Linked DNA regions of Homo sapiens: all the other regions are linked to region 1. The links are contacts of gene promoters, found by promoter capture Hi-C in blood cells and fetal thymus (Javierre and others, 2016). All regions are on one chromosome and are shown on one strand. Each heading gives the region's core, a stretch centred on a gene start or on the middle of the fragment in contact. The rest is flanking DNA. Distances are from core to core; before and after follow the strand shown. Region 1 holds the start of ABCC12 (ATP binding cassette subfamily C member 12). Region 2 overlaps ITFG1 (integrin alpha FG-GAP repeat containing 1). Region 3 holds the start of ITFG1 (integrin alpha FG-GAP repeat containing 1). Region 4 overlaps ITFG1 (integrin alpha FG-GAP repeat containing 1). Region 5 overlaps ITFG1 (integrin alpha FG-GAP repeat containing 1). Region 6 overlaps ITFG1 (integrin alpha FG-GAP repeat containing 1).

Evidence for each region. Contacts are between HindIII fragments. The CHiCAGO score rates a contact against its expected background, and 5 or more counts as called.
Region 2: a contact is called between a fragment that was not itself captured here and the fragment with the promoter of ABCC12 in region 1, in 1 of 17 cell types (total B cells). The highest score is 5.5, in total B cells.
Region 3: the fragment with the promoter of ITFG1 here is called in contact with the fragment with the promoter of ABCC12 in region 1 in 1 of 17 cell types (M2 macrophages); the score reaches 6.1 in M2 macrophages.
Region 4: a fragment that was not itself captured here is called in contact with the fragment with the promoter of ABCC12 in region 1 in 16 of 17 cell types (total B cells, naive CD4 T cells, total CD8 T cells and 13 more); the score reaches 11.9 in total B cells.
Region 5: a fragment that was not itself captured here is called in contact with the fragment with the promoter of ABCC12 in region 1 in 1 of 17 cell types (total B cells); the score reaches 5.5 in total B cells.
Region 6: a contact is called between a fragment that was not itself captured here and the fragment with the promoter of ABCC12 in region 1, in 1 of 17 cell types (erythroblasts). The highest score is 5.7, in erythroblasts.

What each region holds. Positions count from the first base shown.
Region 1 is chr16:48,154,701-48,157,400 of GRCh38, reverse strand. ABCC12 (ATP binding cassette subfamily C member 12) reads left to right here and starts at 1,408. Exons shown (of 31, transcript NM_001393797.1): 1 at 1,408-1,560. The HindIII fragment of the contact is 11,154 bases long and covers 1-1,568 here.
Region 2 is chr16:47,203,299-47,205,998 of GRCh38, reverse strand. The region is part of intron 14 of ITFG1 (integrin alpha FG-GAP repeat containing 1); the gene reads left to right. Among named protein-coding and RNA genes, the nearest start is that of ITFG1-AS1, 61 kb to the right of the region's middle. The HindIII fragment of the contact is 492 bases long and covers 1,110-1,601 here.
Region 3 is chr16:47,459,738-47,462,437 of GRCh38, reverse strand. It overlaps ITFG1 (integrin alpha FG-GAP repeat containing 1), which reads left to right and starts at 1,375. Exons shown (of 18, transcript NM_030790.5): 1 at 1,375-1,600. The coding sequence starts at 1,393. It overlaps PHKB (phosphorylase kinase regulatory subunit beta), which reads right to left and starts at 1,107. Exons shown (of 31, transcript NM_000293.3): 1 at 1,012-1,107. The coding sequence starts at 1,087. RefSeq lists a silencer at 997-1,466. The HindIII fragment of the contact is 8,409 bases long and covers 1-2,700 here.
Region 4 is chr16:47,162,965-47,165,664 of GRCh38, reverse strand. The region is part of intron 14 of ITFG1 (integrin alpha FG-GAP repeat containing 1); the gene reads left to right. Among named protein-coding and RNA genes, the nearest start is that of ITFG1-AS1, 20 kb to the right of the region's middle. The HindIII fragment of the contact is 3,933 bases long and covers 1-2,700 here.
Region 5 is chr16:47,251,903-47,254,602 of GRCh38, reverse strand. The region is part of intron 12 of ITFG1 (integrin alpha FG-GAP repeat containing 1); the gene reads left to right. Among named protein-coding and RNA genes, the nearest start is that of ITFG1-AS2, 20 kb to the left of the region's middle. The HindIII fragment of the contact is 1,100 bases long and covers 796-1,895 here.
Region 6 is chr16:47,186,941-47,189,640 of GRCh38, reverse strand. All of the region lies in intron 14 of ITFG1 (integrin alpha FG-GAP repeat containing 1), which reads left to right. Among named protein-coding and RNA genes, the nearest start is that of ITFG1-AS1, 44 kb to the right of the region's middle. The HindIII fragment of the contact is 3,704 bases long and covers 1-2,700 here.

The DNA.
Region 1 (2,700 bases), core at 159-2,658:
TGGGTGGAAATCCATCTCCGCCCAGCCTTTCATGGAGATAGAGGAAAACTGATCGGCATTCTTCCTCCATAAACTTGACAGCACTTGACTCCGTTTGGAAGATTGTGGAAGCGAGTCTTTGCTGTGTTTATGAGACCCCCGGGGTTGTTGCGAAGATCAAGTGATAAAGAGGATGAAGAATTTTGCGATACACAAAGGGCTCCAGAAATGTCGAGTGATATTATTAGCAGTGATTTGCATTCATGAAGGGAAGAATGGACGGAAATTAAATGGAACACTTTGGACACGTGTAAGGAAACTGCTGTCGGTCTAGCTCACTCCCCAGGCCGGGGAGCCTTCCTGGGAGGACCCATTTTCCTACACAGCTGCCCACAGCCCCTCTCCATTTCCACCTCCCTCTAGGTAGGAAGGGAACTCAGGTTGGGCAAAGGCGGTGAATTCGCATCTCCAGGAAGCGGCGGGGCCGGAAGGCAGCCAGCAGGGGGCGGCATTGCGCAGGACAGGAGAAGGTAGCGGCCAAGTTCCTCATGAAATCCACGTGCGTGAGGCTGGGAAGGTCCTCTAAGATGTTTAAATAACCCTTAAAGCGGAATCAAGATTTGTTTTTTTCTGCAGTTAGAGAGTTTGCTCCCTCCCAGCCGGCTCGCTGAGCGCTGTGGAACCCTTCGGCTGGGCTCCCCTGAAATCGGGCGCTTGTTCTGGGACAGGCGCAGAAGGGACCCCGGGAATCACGCTTGCGCTCGGGATGTGCAGGGTTCCAAGGGTGACACAGGGGAACTTTTCTATGCAAGGGCTAGCTGCTAGTGCAGGTCTCAGACTTACCTTCCGTTCATTTCAAGACAAATTGAGCTCAAATTACCCTTTTCTTTTTCGTTAAATGAATGGGGAATGAATGAATGAGATTTTCTGTTTTGAAGATGAGGCTCATCTCCCCTCCCCTCGCCTCCCCTGCCCTCCCCTACCCCTGCCCTCCCCTACCCCTGCCCTCCCCTCCCCTCCCTTCCCTTCCCCTGATCCCAAAGTTGATTCCCGGTTGCAGGAACACAGCGTAGAAAATTCGATGCATTCTCTCAGGAAGGAGCCTGGAGTGGGACTCAGGGGACCTGGGTGCTGGTCTCAGCCCCACGCCAGTCGTGGACAGGCTTCTGTTCCTTGGGCTTCTCGTCTGTAGAATGACGGTTGGAGAGAGGATTTTTCTCCTTCTCTTCTACAAGGATGTGCTGTGACAGCCAGGGAAGGGCTGGCCATGCACAGTGCTTTCATGCATGGGCTCTGACTGTCACCAAAGAGCCAGACCCGGCCACAGGCCATCCTGGAAGAGGGGAGAGCCCTTTAATGTGGGCAGAGGGAATGTTGGCCCGCCAGAGTTCCCTCTCAGGTGTGGTGGGAGTGGCAGTTGAATGGGGCAGTTGGAGAGGAGGACTTCAGGCGGGTGGGACAAGAGAAACTGAATCTGAGGTCCTTGGGGAGAAGCAGGCCCTGGAGTCCTGGGCAGCAGATGCCAGGCTCTGAGCCCCATGACTGCTGACCCTCCTCCCCTCCCTCTCATCCTCAGCCCAGGTAAAGCTTCATTTCCAGCCCAGGTAAAGCTTCTCCCTGTAACAATTAGTGGCCACCATTTAGTCCCAAGGGCCTTTGTTTCTCATCCTCAGGACAGGCTGTGTGTGTGTGTGGTGGGGGGTTTGGGGGAGGTGACACCACTGAATGGGGCTGCCCAAGTGGGAGGCAGCAGGGACGAGGCTCCCAGAAGAAAGGCAGCCCCTCTTCCACTTTTGGAGCCCCCGCTATCATAAAAGAAAAGGCAGAAATGCCAAGACGCGATTTCAAAATCTCTGAAATACAAAAGCCTACATTGAATATTTTAAGTCTTTTCCCACACATGCACAAACACAAACACATATACAGGGTAGTGTTCACAATTTAATTATGGGATTTATACCTCCCCCCCAAAAAAAAAGACCTGGAAAGCTTTACTGCAGTTCTCATATGAGGTTTTCATCTTTCTTTCTTTTTTTTTTTTTTTTAACTTTTAAATATATTATTTTCCTGGGAGGGTAGATTTGAATTGCTCTGAATCCAGGCTCTGCATCCTTCTTTGATCGTGTCGGAATGTGTCTGTAACTGGATGGATGACCTCTTTTGGAGATGCCATCACTGGCCACTGTTTTAGGCCTTCTGGGAGATGAGGGTACTTGAGCAAAAGCACCCCCACTTCCCTTCCCACACCCCCAGCTTGGTGCTGTCCCCTGCATGCACTTCCCTCTGCCACCTCTCTGCCTCTCCCTGCCTCCCAACCCCAGTCCCTCATCACTCACAGGGCTTTCTGATCTGGCTGCCACAGGTGCCTGGGACCTGGGGACAGACAGGAGAGGTGCGGTGCAGGCAGGGCCTGGGAGAGCTCCCCAGTGTCTCCTCTGTGCTGGAGGCCAGTCAGGCCCTGGAGGAAGGGGCTGTGGGAGTTGGGGGAGACCATCAGATATTGATAACTTTGGTGGCTTTAAATTAACAATGGATTTATTAAGAAAGAAGTAGGGCTGTAGTCTCATACCTGGGAAAAATTTTATGACTAAAGGTGTGCCTGCTTTTGGTTGATGGAGGAACTCCCATCATGAGCACCAAGGAAGACCCAGAGTCCAGTTCTCAAACATAAAGTTGTTAATTTTCTGGGCTAGACAGGGGCAGAAATGAAATATAACAGAG
Region 2 (2,700 bases), core at 106-2,605, 950 kb after region 1:
AGCTACTCAGGGGGCTGAGGCAGGAGAGTAGCATGAACCCAGGAGGCAGAGGTTGCAGTGAGCCAAGATCATGCCACTGCACTCCAGCCTGGGCAACAAAGTTAGACTCAGATAGATAGATAGATAGATAGATAGATAGATAGATAGATAGATAGATAGATAGATAGATAATTTAATTCCAGCTGGGGAAATTGACAAACAACTATGACTCTGATTAATTAAACTGAATTGCACACTGGTTGATGATACGATCGGAGTGGATGTTCAATCTCTGTGTGTGTTCCTAGGATGAAGTCTGTTGAAGTATGGAGTTCTCACTGGTTGCTCCAATCCTGAAAGCCTGGTTACTTCCTGTAGTTAGATAACTTCTTTCACAGAAAATTTATTCAGAAGGCTAGAAGCTCATAACTTTATTAGAATAATCACAGAGCGTAGAAAACCTTGATCAATAAAAATGATCCTTTTCTCCTCTCCCAGGCTGATTATGCAGGAAATGAGGAGTTTTTACCCCCTAATTTACTTTTTCTCATCCCGATTCAGAAATACACTGACTTGCATTGAGTGCACTAAGAATCTGAGTCTGAAAATTTGTACGAATTGTCTTTGGACCAGTGGTTCTCAATCGGGTGATTTTGACTCATGGGAGACATTTGACAATGTCTGCAGGCATTTTTGATTGTCACAACTGGGAGGGTGCTACTGGCATCTAGTGGATAGAGGCCAGGAGGCTGCTAAGCAAACTATAACAGATAGAACAGCTCCCTCAACAAAAAATTATCCATCCCAAAATGTCAACAGTGCTGACTTGAGAAATCCTGATGTAGACTATAAAACTCACAAATATCACAAAACTTTATAAACTTATGAATATTCAGCTATGATTCCAAACTTCTACGGATATTTGGAAATCCTTCCCACCTTCCTATGTAAATAGTAGTATTATTTGCCAGGCATCATGTGGCATTGTAAACAGACAGATGAATTAGGAAAAGATTTGGAGAGGCAGGAGAGGTACATCTGATGGTCCTGGGACCTGTCTTTTGATAGTTTAGCAAAGTGCTGGCTCAGCATATGAGTTTAGAGAATACAACAGCCTAATAATTGAAGCTTAGTTCCTGACACTCCTCCTTTCTAACAAAGACAGTTTTCTCAGCCAGGAAGCTCTCATGTCTTCTAGATATTCCCAGTCTTCTTCCAATGTCCATATAAAATTTAAAATGCCACAAAGACTGGGGCACTTGAGTATTTTCCATGGTGCATCCTGCTGCAGTTGATGCATGCACCTTAATAATACAGGATGGTAGGGGGAAAGGGACCCAGGCATTCAGCTACTGCTCTGCCTGTCAGTGGTTCATTAAACCTTATTTTACTTTTAATACCACCTGGTACAAATGATGTGTGTATGCATACCTCCTTAGCATAACAGTCAGACAAGAAATAGTTAAAAGAGCTATAATAGAAATAAAAACAAATGTTTTAAAAACCAAAAGCTAACAAAATACGAAAGCATTTCTATTAGCTAAAATGCTGAATTTATTATCTTTAGAAGCAGTTTAGGAAGAAAAGGGAATATGATGTGTATCTTAGAAATACTCTAAGCTTATAAAGTCAGCTAGTTTTAAGGTACCTGTTGGAGTCACTGAGGGAAGGAATGACTCACAGAAATTCAAACTTTGAAATCATAAAGTAGTTGTTTTGAAATTTTTGTTATGGAAGCTTGTTACCAAGGGTGAATCTTCGGCAGGGTTGGTATAGGTGTGGTTGACAAAATTTAGCTATAACAAGTGGGCTGTCAGATGCCATGGAAAGATTTTACTGGGGATAAAAATGCTAATAATATATGTATTGGACAAAATTACATTTTTATATGGGACCATGGACAGTTTTTCTTAGCATCACCACCATATTTGGCAGGGGTGGGGACTTTTCATTTTTGTTTTAAATTGTGGTGAAATACATATAAACATAAAATATATCATCTTAACCATTTTTAAGTATACAGTTCAGTAGTACTAAGTGTATTCACACTGTGTGCAACCATCACCATCATTACTCTCCAGAGCACTTCACCTTGCAGACTTGAAACTCTGTACCCATTAAACGCTAACTCCCCATTTCCCTCCTGCTCCAGCCCATGGCATGTACCATTCTACCTTCAGTCTCTATGAATCTGAGTACTCTAGGTCAGGGGTGCCCATCCCCCAGGCCACAGACCAGTACCAATCCATGGCCTGTTAGGAACCGGGCCACATAGCAGGAGGTGAGCAGCAGGTGAGCAAGCAAAGCTTCATCTGTATTTACAGCTGCTCCCCATCAATCACATTATAGCCTGAGCTCTGCCTCCTGTCAGATCAGCCGCTGCATTAGATTCTCACAGGACCATGAACCCTATTGTGAACTGTTCGTGTAAGGGATCTGGGCTGCACGCTCCTTATGAGAATCTATGCCTGATGATCTGTCACTGTCTCCCATCACCCCCAGATGGGACTGTCTAGTTGCAGGAAGACAAGCTCAGGGCTCCCACTGATTCTACATTATGGTGAGTTGTATAATTCATTACATGTTACAATGTAATAATAATAGAAATAAAGTGCATAATAAATGTAATGTGCTTGAATCATCCCAAAACCATCCCAGCCATCCCCTGGTCCGTGGAAAAATTGTCTTCCACAAAACCAGTTCCTGGTGCCAAAAAGTTTG
Region 3 (2,700 bases), core at 126-2,625, 690 kb after region 1:
GGTCTCGAACTCCTGACCTCAGGTGATCCGCCCGCCTCGGCCTCCCAAAGTGCTGGGATTACAGGCGTGAGCCACCGCGCCCGTCCGAAAATAATTTCTTAATATCAATGCAAGTGCAAAGTTAATTTTCCTAGCTAACACCTTTCACACCCACCCCCAATAATGACACTTCATCAATTCTTTAAAAGGGAAGCTCCTTAGCTGAAAACCTGCATTCCGCCTTTCACCTTTCCTGTTTAAGTGCATGCCTTTTGTTCAAGATTATATCCAGCCAACCAGGAATACAGGAAGTTTTAATAACGCCACAAGTCATGACGTTGCAATTTGAACAAGTCAGTTCGGGACACTTGGAACTGTTAAAACTGCCTGCAAGGCACCTTCTGACCTCTATGCTTTCGGGTTTGGAAACCACACAACCTGGGGCCACTTAAGAAGCCCTTTTCTTTCTGGGCCCTAACTATACTCTTCAATATCTGAGGCCCAGTCTCCTTCAGTTTCTGCTAGATAGATGACAGGTCTACTGCTTAGAACCTGTGGGGAATGTAAAAGGGATATAAGACATAAAGCAAGGAGCCCAGACGCCGGCTTTCTGCAGCCAGATCGTAGTTACATCTGACTTGGTCTGATTAAGCTATCTGACTTTTGCAGAGAACATTCACAGGAAAGACACATTCACAGGGAAGACACATTCCCTTTCCCAGGAATGTGCCGCCGCCCGATTTTTAAGTTAGAAGACTCTAAGGGAAGTCCGGACCGCTGCCTACTTTCCGAGTGGGGCTCACAAGCGGAATAGAGTCGGGGGCACACGCAGAGTGGAGCTGGCTCTGCCACCTAATTTTTAGAGGTGGAGGAAGATATTAGAAACAAGGCCAGGGCCGCCACCTGCTTTCTAAGGAGGAACTCGGGGCACAGGTTCATTCCCAGGGCCCCCACCTGCCTCCCGCCAAGGCGCTTGAGGCGAAGCACCACCCAAGGTACTCGGGTGGGGGGCGGCGCCCCAGCCAGCCAAACCTGAGCGCTTGGTCCGAGCTCTTCGCTCCAAGACCTTCCAGCTCACTTCTGCCGTGAGTCCCGCCGCCCCCGCCATCGCGCTCCGGTCGCCGCCTTGGCCACCGCCCCCGGGGCCGCCTGTCAGCAATGCCGGGCCACGCCCCCCGCACGACACTGTCGGGAGGCGCGCCTGCCGGAAGTGAGCGTGAGGGCGGCTTTCACCCTAGCTCCACTGCTTTTTTAGCGTCGGAAGGGCAGCCCTAGTGGGAGAGAGAAAAAGGAGCCGGCAGCGGCTCTTACGCGTCCCGGGGCTGCGCGCCACTCTCTCGGCCGGTAACGCGGTGCTTTGCGGCTGTCGTCAAGCGCGGCGTTGGGCCGGCGGGCGGGGGCTGAGGGGCTGCCATGGCGGCGGCGGGCCGGCTCCCGAGCTCCTGGGCCCTCTTCTCGCCGCTCCTCGCAGGGCTTGCACTACTGGGAGTCGGGCCGGTCCCAGCGCGGGCGCTGCACAACGTCACGGCCGAGCTCTTTGGGGCCGAGGCCTGGGGCACCCTTGCGGCTTTCGGGGACCTCAACTCCGACAAGCAGACGGATCTCTTCGTGCTGCGGGAAAGTCAGTGCTTGCCGGGCCCTCCCTCTGTTCGCTGTCCGTGTGCCTCTCCCGGTGTTCCCCAAACCCATTGCCCAATGGCCGGTCCTTCTGCATTTCCTGGTCCTTCTCTCCCAGCCCTGTGGCCTTCCCTTTAGCATTCTTAACAGCTTGTCCTTTTGCACCACCCTTTCCAACCCCAGGTTCTGACCCAGCTACCCTACAGTTTGACCTACCCTCAAAAGCCCTGACAGCACCTCAGTTTTGTTCCTAAGAAGTCTGCGGCCCTCACCCAGTCACCTTACCCCCTCCTCCCCATGGAATCACCTGTTTTCCAAAGTGCTTCCTGATTCCTAGGAATCTTTGTAGCTTGCCTCAACGTTCGCTCCCAAGGCCCACTCATTCCTTTCTATTTTGCTTCAGTCTTCCTTCCCCGTTGATGAACATGAAAAGGTGCAACCTGACAATCTCTTCTCATAGGGGGCTTCTTCTTGCCTCCCCACCTACCTAATTCGCCCACCCCTTTCTTTGTCAAGGCCACAACTTTCTATGAAGCGAATGTACCCTTCCAAGGGCCTAAACACTAAACAGCTCACACAAGCATTTTGCAGGGACCACTGATAAACCCAATGCCTCCTTGGGAAAGCAGTCTCAAACTACAGAAATTTCTCTCTTGAGCTGCCTGTTCTTTCGTGTACTCCTTCCTCATCTTGGTCATCACCTTAGTGTTCCAAATGTCTACTTTCTTTGCTAACTTGTTCTTGGAAATTCTTTGCTTTGACAATCGTTAAACTAACTTTTTTGTAAATCTTGATGCTGACAGTGGGCATTAGGGGGTCTTAGGGTTCTTGAGTACCTACAGAAGCAGGTGCTGCTTAAAGATCAATGCTGTGAAGGAAGGAAGGAAGAGCTACTCAGAGCTTGCCTGACAGGATCCTGAACCAGACTTCTTGGAGCCCTTGCGGGGATGCAGGAACCTCTTACAAACCCTGAATATTTTCCCAATCTTTTTGACTCCTCATTTTGCAGTGTACTGCCAAACCTGTTGCTGCTGTGTCCAAACTGGATACAGAGAGTAGCCTTGACTTTAAAGATGGCCTGTGTTTGATTAAACAATTCCAAAA
Region 4 (2,700 bases), core at 75-2,574, 990 kb after region 1:
CACATTGCCCAGGCTGGTCTGAAAAGTCCTGAGCTCAAGCAATCCACCTGCCTTGGCCTCCCAGAGTGCTGGGATGACAGGCATAAATGGCCTGCTTTTAATTTTTAATTCAACTCTGTAAGAATAAATTTTATCTTAATAAAGATAGCTAACATTATTATTTACTATGTGAGATACTCTACTTTTAAACATTATCTTTCAATCAGCTCAATTCCACAAGGTGGACTAATTCTGCAGCCCATGCTGTTCACTATACTGTTTTCCAGTTTCATACACATTGTTAATGCCTATCCTTAAATTCATGTTCCTTTTCATTATACCTTACTGTTTCCAACTTAAGAACTATATAAATAATCAGGTAAATATACTTTCCAGTGATTGCATATTTTTGGATAACATTAGTGATGTTTAGCAGAGTCCCCTTGAATATTAAAATATTTATATATTAATTAACTTTGTCATTTAAATGTTAAGTTTAAGCATGTAGAAAAATACCTAGAAAATACATATATTGTATAAAAGTGAATTACAATAGGGAAAGATTGACTATTGGAATGGCAGTGTGAGGACCACATGAACTTGCTCTCCCAGAGCCCCCAAAAAGAACAACAACAAAAATACTGGCCAACCATATAATATCCACCATTTCAGAACTCTGGAAATTAACCAAAGCCACAGAATGGACTGAGTATTGTCTATTCTAAGGAAAACTACTGATCCTTGATAAGACACCGAATCTATGGCATTTTTATCTTGGAGCAATTCCCATCCTGCCCCCCTTCTCAACTGAGTAGTGCAGTAGCCATGGAAAGCCAGCGGCTTCACAGCCAATGGATATGACTGACCTCCTTGGAGCTGCATGAAAATCTCCATCCCTATTACTATCAACATTTTGTCTGAACTAGCAGCTCCCTGGAAAATCTTCATTCTCAGCATCTTGGCTATTTCATTTGACTAGGGCATTACCAAAAACAACAGTAATCTGCTGGCAACATCTCAGCTACCTAAGCATGTGATTAAAGGTGGAGGAAACAAGATCCTGATCAAAATATAAGAGGAATTCTTAGAAAACTGGAAAACATACGCAGCTTTGAAAAGCTACAACATATTTTTGGGGATCTAGAAGACTTTGCAAATTCCTAGAAAGGAAAACACCTCATTCAAATAATCAGCTCCCTTCTGCTTCACCATGAAGCCCTGCGTAAGCAGGAAATGAAAACTAAGGCTGTCATTTTCTGAACTTTGAAGGCATGCCTTCACACACAAATCACTTTGACAAAGGGTGGGAGATGTACAGGCAAGAGATTTAGGGAAATCTTACAACAAATCACTGGCTGACCACTAAATAATACTGACCCAGGTATGCCAAGTAGGAAGCCAGATGTAGAATAAAAACTTTAAAAATAAAAATTAAAAAGACCCTGGGGCAACTGCTGCAGGGAATACAGAATCCACAGAATTCACTACATGAAAAAAAAAAAAAAGTCACTAAACAAATAAACAGTAACAAAACAACAAACCCTTGGGTGGGGTTAAGCGATACCAGAGTTATCAATATTATCTTAAAAGTCCAGTTTTCAACAAAAATTATAAGACATACAAAGAAACAGGAAAGTAGGCTAATACACATCTCTTTAAAAAAATAAAAAGACAACAGAAAATGTGCCTACAGGGCCAGATGCTTTACTTAATTGGTGTGTGTGTGTGTGTATGTGTGTGTGTGTGTGTGTGTGTGTGTGTGTGTGTGTGTAGTTGAGCTTCTTTCACGTGTTTATTGACCATTTTCATGGCTAATAACTATTAGTCATTTGGGAAATGCAAGTAAAAACCATAATGAGATACCACTTCACAACCATGAGCATGGCTATAATACAAAAGACACAACAAAAAGTGTTATTGAGGATGTGGAAAAATTTGAACCATTATCCATTGCTGGTGGGAACATAAAATGGTGCAGGTACTTTGGAAACAGTTCGATAGTTCCTAATGATGTTAAACACTTAGCTACATAATCAAAAGAAAGGAAAACAAGAGTGAATACAAAAATAAACCTGTATATGAATGTTCACAGCAGTATTTTCATAGTAACCAAAAATGGAAATGACTGAAATGTCCATCAATTAATGAAATTAATTAATGAAACAAAATGTATATATAACAAAGTGGAGTATTATTTGGCAAGTAACAGTAATAAAGTATGGAAACATGCTACCATATAGATGAACCTTGAAAACATGCTAAGTGAAAGAAGCCAGTCACAAAAGACCACATTGTATGATTGCATTTATATGAAATCTTCAGAATAGGCAAATCTATTGAGTCAGAAAGCAGATTAGTGATTACATACAGCTGGAAGTGTGCAGGTTGGAAACAGACATGGCTTCTCATGTGTATGGAGTTTCTTTCTCAAGTGATAAAAATGTTCTAAGATTAGATTGTGGTGATGGCTGAACAATTCTTTGAATATACTCAAAACCACTTAACTGTACACTTTAAACGGGTGATGTGTATGGTATGTGAATTATATCTCAGTAACGCTGTTTTCTTTAAAAAGTGAATCATTGGCTGAGCACGGTGGGTCACGCCTGTAATCCCAGCATTTTGAGAGCCCGAGGCAGGGGGATCACTTGAGCCCAGGAGTTCAAGGCCGGGCAACATAGTAAGACCCCGTCTCCACAAATATTTAAAAATTAGCCGAGC
Region 5 (2,700 bases), core at 96-2,595, 900 kb after region 1:
TCTTAAAATAGAATGTGATTGAACTGTCTATACTTGTGAGTTTTGCTGACTAGCATGAGGGCCTGCGACTCCACTGCTTTCCATGCTCAAGTCTGCAAGTTCTTCCCTCGCACAGAGGTCCCCAGCCAGGTAGAACGGATGGGAATCAGAGCATAGGGTTTTTGTAACATTGATAAGATATTCCAATTCCCAGTTGTAATAATAATAATAATAATAATAATATGCTAAAGAGAGTAGGCAGTTCTCAGGGTGAGGCAAAAGAAGGTCTGACTTTTTTTATATTGATCATTTAGAAATTATCCACGTGGGAAAATGTATGCATATAATTTAGGGTCCCAAGTTCTTCCTTGGCATTTATTCATTTACATTTTTTTTAATTACAAAAACAAGATATTAGAGATGGGGAAAATCTCAAAAGGCATCTTGCCCAAGTCTAACCTAATGCAACATCTTAGCTTCTGCTTGAATGCTTTGTACTAAAGGAGACCTCACCTCCTCATAATGCAACACAGACTTCTTTTATGATCAGTTTAGTTGTTAGAAAACTCAAGTCAAAATGTGCATATTTAGTTAGTTCTGTCCATTGATACTCATGTCTGGTGTATAGTAGGCCCTTTATAGGTATCTGTTGAATTTTTTAAAAATTGTTCCAATAAAATTACTCTAGTTTTTATTGTTAAAGCACACCCTAACGCAGGGGTCCCAAACCCCAGGCTGCAGACCAGTACTAGTCTGAGACCTATTAGGAACCAGGCCGCACGACAGGAGGTGAACGGCCGGAGGGCGAGCAAAGCTTCCCCTGTATTTATAGCCACACCCCATCACTGGCATTACCGCCTGAGCTCTGTCTCCTGTCAGAGCAGCAGTAGCATTAGATTCTCATAGGAGCACGACGCCTATTGTGAACTGCACATGTGAGGGATCTAGGTTGTGTGCTCCTTATGAGAATCTAACTAATGCCTGATGATCTGAGGTGGAACAATCCTGAAACCATCACCCATCTAACCCCCATCTGTGAAAAAATTGCCCTTCTTCTGCAAAACCCATCTGTGGTGCCAGAAAGGTTGGGGACCACTGCCCTAACTTATAATCATAATAACAGAATACTCAGAACACATCATGGTCCTGCTCAGGAAAATGTAGCCTTTACATCATTAAATAGTGAGACAGCAAACTACCTGACAGTGAAATGACATGTCTGAGCCCTTCTTTAAAGTAATCCAGGGATGTGGAAGCTAGGTATACATGAAACAAGGTTGGCCATGTGTTGTTGACAGTTTTTCAAATTGTGAGAAATGTGTGTGAGGTTCATTCTGCTATTTTCAGTTTTATATATGTTTATACTTTTGTTTGAAATGTTCTGTAGTAAAAAGTTAAAACAGAAAACTGAAGAGAGTCTTGAGAATCTCTAATCTGGAGTTTAAGAATCCCTGGCCTTCAACTTACCACCCTAAATCAGGACAAGTCACCCTGCAGTCTCAGTAACATTATCCTGAGGAGAGGATTCTCCACACATCTCCAAGCTGAGACCCATAGATAGCCAATTTGGTGCAGGAGGTTTTAGTTTTAGAAAACAGGATAACTTTGCATTAAAGATATTAACATAAATATTAATAATGTAATTTACAGAAAGGTCACAGGAAATGAGATCCCAATTTAAAGCAATCATTTGGAAGAAAAATAACCTTCTAGTTGTTTTGAGATGCCCTTCCACTCTTTCCTTTGATTATCGGTTGTTTGCCTTAAGTCAGTTACTAGCACGTAATTACCCTTCACAGCCATCGGCAATGTCCACAGCTGATTTTGCTCTTAAATTATTCTGTTACTCTAATCTCAAACCAGCCTATACTAAATGCCACTGTTTTTCAGTTAAGGAAATTGGGGATACTTAAGCTTTTATATGTGGCCATGGCAATGTAAACTGCCCTTCTGCTTCTCTTACGCACAGCACAGCAGATCCACAGCACTTACATGAAGACGGGGACCTTGCGTATTACAGAATTGTGGGGTCCCCTCTCCCCTGAATCAAGACTAGTTACTAGCTCTCATCTTTTATTGTTATTCCTGTCAGATACACTTGGAGGTTCTGAATCTTAATTCTAGTCTAGAACTTAACTCATTTCTAACAAACCTGGATGAACCCTGTTTCCCCTAGGACTTTTAAAATTGTAACAGTATCTTCACCTTTGTTTACCAAACAAGATGAGACCTTTCCTTTGGGAAAGCTTTCTTTTTTCTTTTTTCTCCAAAAGCAGATACTTAATGGGAAAGCTTTTATTCCCCTTGCCTGCCTCTGGGTTTTGTTGAAATAATATGGAAGTTTAATTTCTGGATGATTAATTTTGTTTTACTTTTTGTGCCTTCCATTTTATAAATCCTTTCTTAATAATTCACAACCATATTATCAGTAATAAACAAATTTTACCAGCCTTATTGCCACCTTTTTTCTTATACACCACATTTTCCCCTATTTCTTTTGGTGAAGTATTTTCTCAAGTTATTTTCAGAAAAATTGTACTTAGGTTAATATATTTTCTGAGTACTAGTATGTCTTAAAATATCTTTCTCTTGCTCTTACTGTTAACACTAAGTTCGCTATTACAGAATTTTATAAACATTGCTCTATTTTCTTCTTGCATATAGCGTAGTCCCCACTTATCCACAGTTTCACTTTCTGTGGTTTTAGTTACCCATAGTCAA
Region 6 (2,700 bases), core at 140-2,639, 970 kb after region 1:
ATCCCCCAGAAAGTGGAAACAGACGAAATGCCCATGAACTGATGAATGGGTAAACCACAGATATGGTATATTCATACAGTGGAATATTATTCAGTCACAAAAACATGAAACGTGCAACAATATGATGAACCATACTAAACTATTCTAAGCGAATACAGCCAGACACAAAAGGCCACATATTGTCCAACTTCATTTATATGAAAGGTCCAGAATAGGCAACTTCATAGAGGTAGAAAGGACAGTAGTGGTTACCAGGGGCTGGAGGGAGGAAGAAATGGGAACTAAGTGCTCTTGGGTGTGGGGTTTTTTTTGTGGTAATGAAAATATTCTGGAATTGGTGTCAGTTGCACAGCCTTGTCAGTGTACTAAAAACCACTGAATTGTACACTGTAAACTGGTGGGTTTTGTGGTATGTGAATTATATACCAATTTAACACAAAAGAAGAAACATAAAAACTACTCACATTCTAAATGTATAACTGGGAAGTAGGCTGACAAGAGCTTGAACCAGGGTTCCAATTTCTTCATTTATTCCAAAAAAGAAATTAGAAGAACCTTCATTAAAAACTGTTTATGGGGCTGGGTGTGGTGGCTAAAGCCTGTAATCCCAGCACTTTAGAAGGCTGAGGCAGGTGGATCACTGAGGTTGGGAGTTCAAGACCAGCTTGGCCAACATGGCAAAACCCTGCCTCTACTAAAAATACAAAAATTAGCTGGGCATGGTGGCACACACTTCTAATCCCAGCTACTTGGGAGGCTAAGGCAGGAGCATCGCTTAAACCCAGGAAGTGGAGGTTGCAGTGAGCCAAGATAGCGCCACTGCACTGCTTTGTAGTTTACAAAGCACTTTTTTTGTATTTTTTTTTTCTTATTATACTTTAAGTTTTAGGGTACATGTGCACAATGTGCAGGTTAGTTACGTATGTATACATGTGACATGCTGATGCGCTGCACCCACTAACTCGTCATCTAGCATTAGGTATATCTCCCAATGCTATCCCTCCCCCCTCCCCCCTCCCCCCACCCCACAACAGTCCCCAGAGTATGATGTTTCCCTTCCTCTGTCCATGTGTTCTCATTGTTCAATTCCCACCTATGAGTGAGAATATGCGGTGTTTGGTTTTTTGTTCTTGCAATAGTTTACTGAGAATGATGATTTCCAATTTCATCCATGTCCCTACAAAGGACATGAACTCATCATTTTTTATGACTGCATAGTATTCCATGGTGTATATGTGCCACATTTTCTTAATCCAGTCTATCATTGTTGGACATTTGGGTTGGTTCCAAGTCTTTGCTATAGTGAATAATGCCGCAATAAACATACGTGCACATGTGTCTTTATAGTAGCATGATTTATAGTCCTTTGGGTATATACCCAGTAATGGGACGGCTGGGTCAAATGGTATTTCTAGTTCTAGATCCCTGAGGAATCGCCACACTGACTTCCACAATGGTTGAACTAGTTTACAGTCCCACCAACAGTGTAAAAGTGTTCCTATTTCTCCACATCCTCTCCAGCACCTGTTGTTTCCTGACTTTTTAATGATTGCCATTCTAACTGGTGTGAGATGGTATCTCACTGTGGTTTTGATTTGCATTTCTCTGATAGCCAGTGATGATGAGCATTTTTTCATGTGTTTTTTGGCTGCATAAATGTCTTCTTTTGAGAAGTGTCTGTTCATGTCCTTCGCCCACTTTTTGATGTGGTTGTTTGTTTTTTTCTTGTAAATTTGTTTGAGTTCATTGTAGATTCTGGATATTAGCCCTTTGTCAGATGAGTAGGTTGCGAAGATTTTCTCCCATTTTGTAGGTTGCCTGTTCACTCTGATGGTAGTTTCTTTTGCTGTGCAGAAGCTCTTTGGTTTAATTAGATCCCATTTGTCAATTTTGGCTTTTGTTGCCATTGCTTTTGGTGTTTTAGACAGGAAGTGCTTGCCCATGCCTATGTCCTGAATGGTAATGCCTAGGTTTTCTTCTAGGGTTTTTATGGTTTTAGGTCTAATGTTTAAGTCTTTAATCCATCTTGAATTGATTTTTGTATAAGGTGTAAGGAAGGGATCCAGTTTCAGCTTTCTAAATATGGCTAGCCAGTTTTCCCAGCACCATTTATTAAATAGGGAATCCTTTCCCCATTGCTTGTTTTTCTCAGGTTTGTCAAAGATGAGATAGTTGTAGATATGCGGCATTATTTCTGAGGGCTCTGTTCTGTTCCATTGATCTATATCTCTGTTTTGGTACCAGTACCATGCTGTTTTGGTTACTGTAGCCTTGTAGTATAGTTTGAAGTCAGGTAGCATGATGCCTCCAGCTTTGTTCTTTTGGCTTAGGATTGACTTGGCGATGCGGGCTCTTTTTTGTTTCCATATGAACGTTAAAGTAGTTTTTTCCAATTCTGTGAAGAAAGTCATTGGTAGCTTGATGGGGATGGCATTGAATCTGTAAATTACCTTGGGCAGTATGGCCATTTTCACAATATTTATTCTTCCTACCCATGAGCATGGAATGTTCTTCCATTTGTTTGTATCCTCTTTTATTTCCTTGAGCAGTGGTTTGTAGTTCTCCTTGAAGAGGTCCTTCACATCCCTTGTAAGTTGGATTCCTAGGTATTTGATTCTCTTTGAAGCAATTGTGAATGGGAGTTCACTCATGATTTGGCTCTCTGTTTGTCTGTTACTGGTGTATAAGAATGCTTGTGAT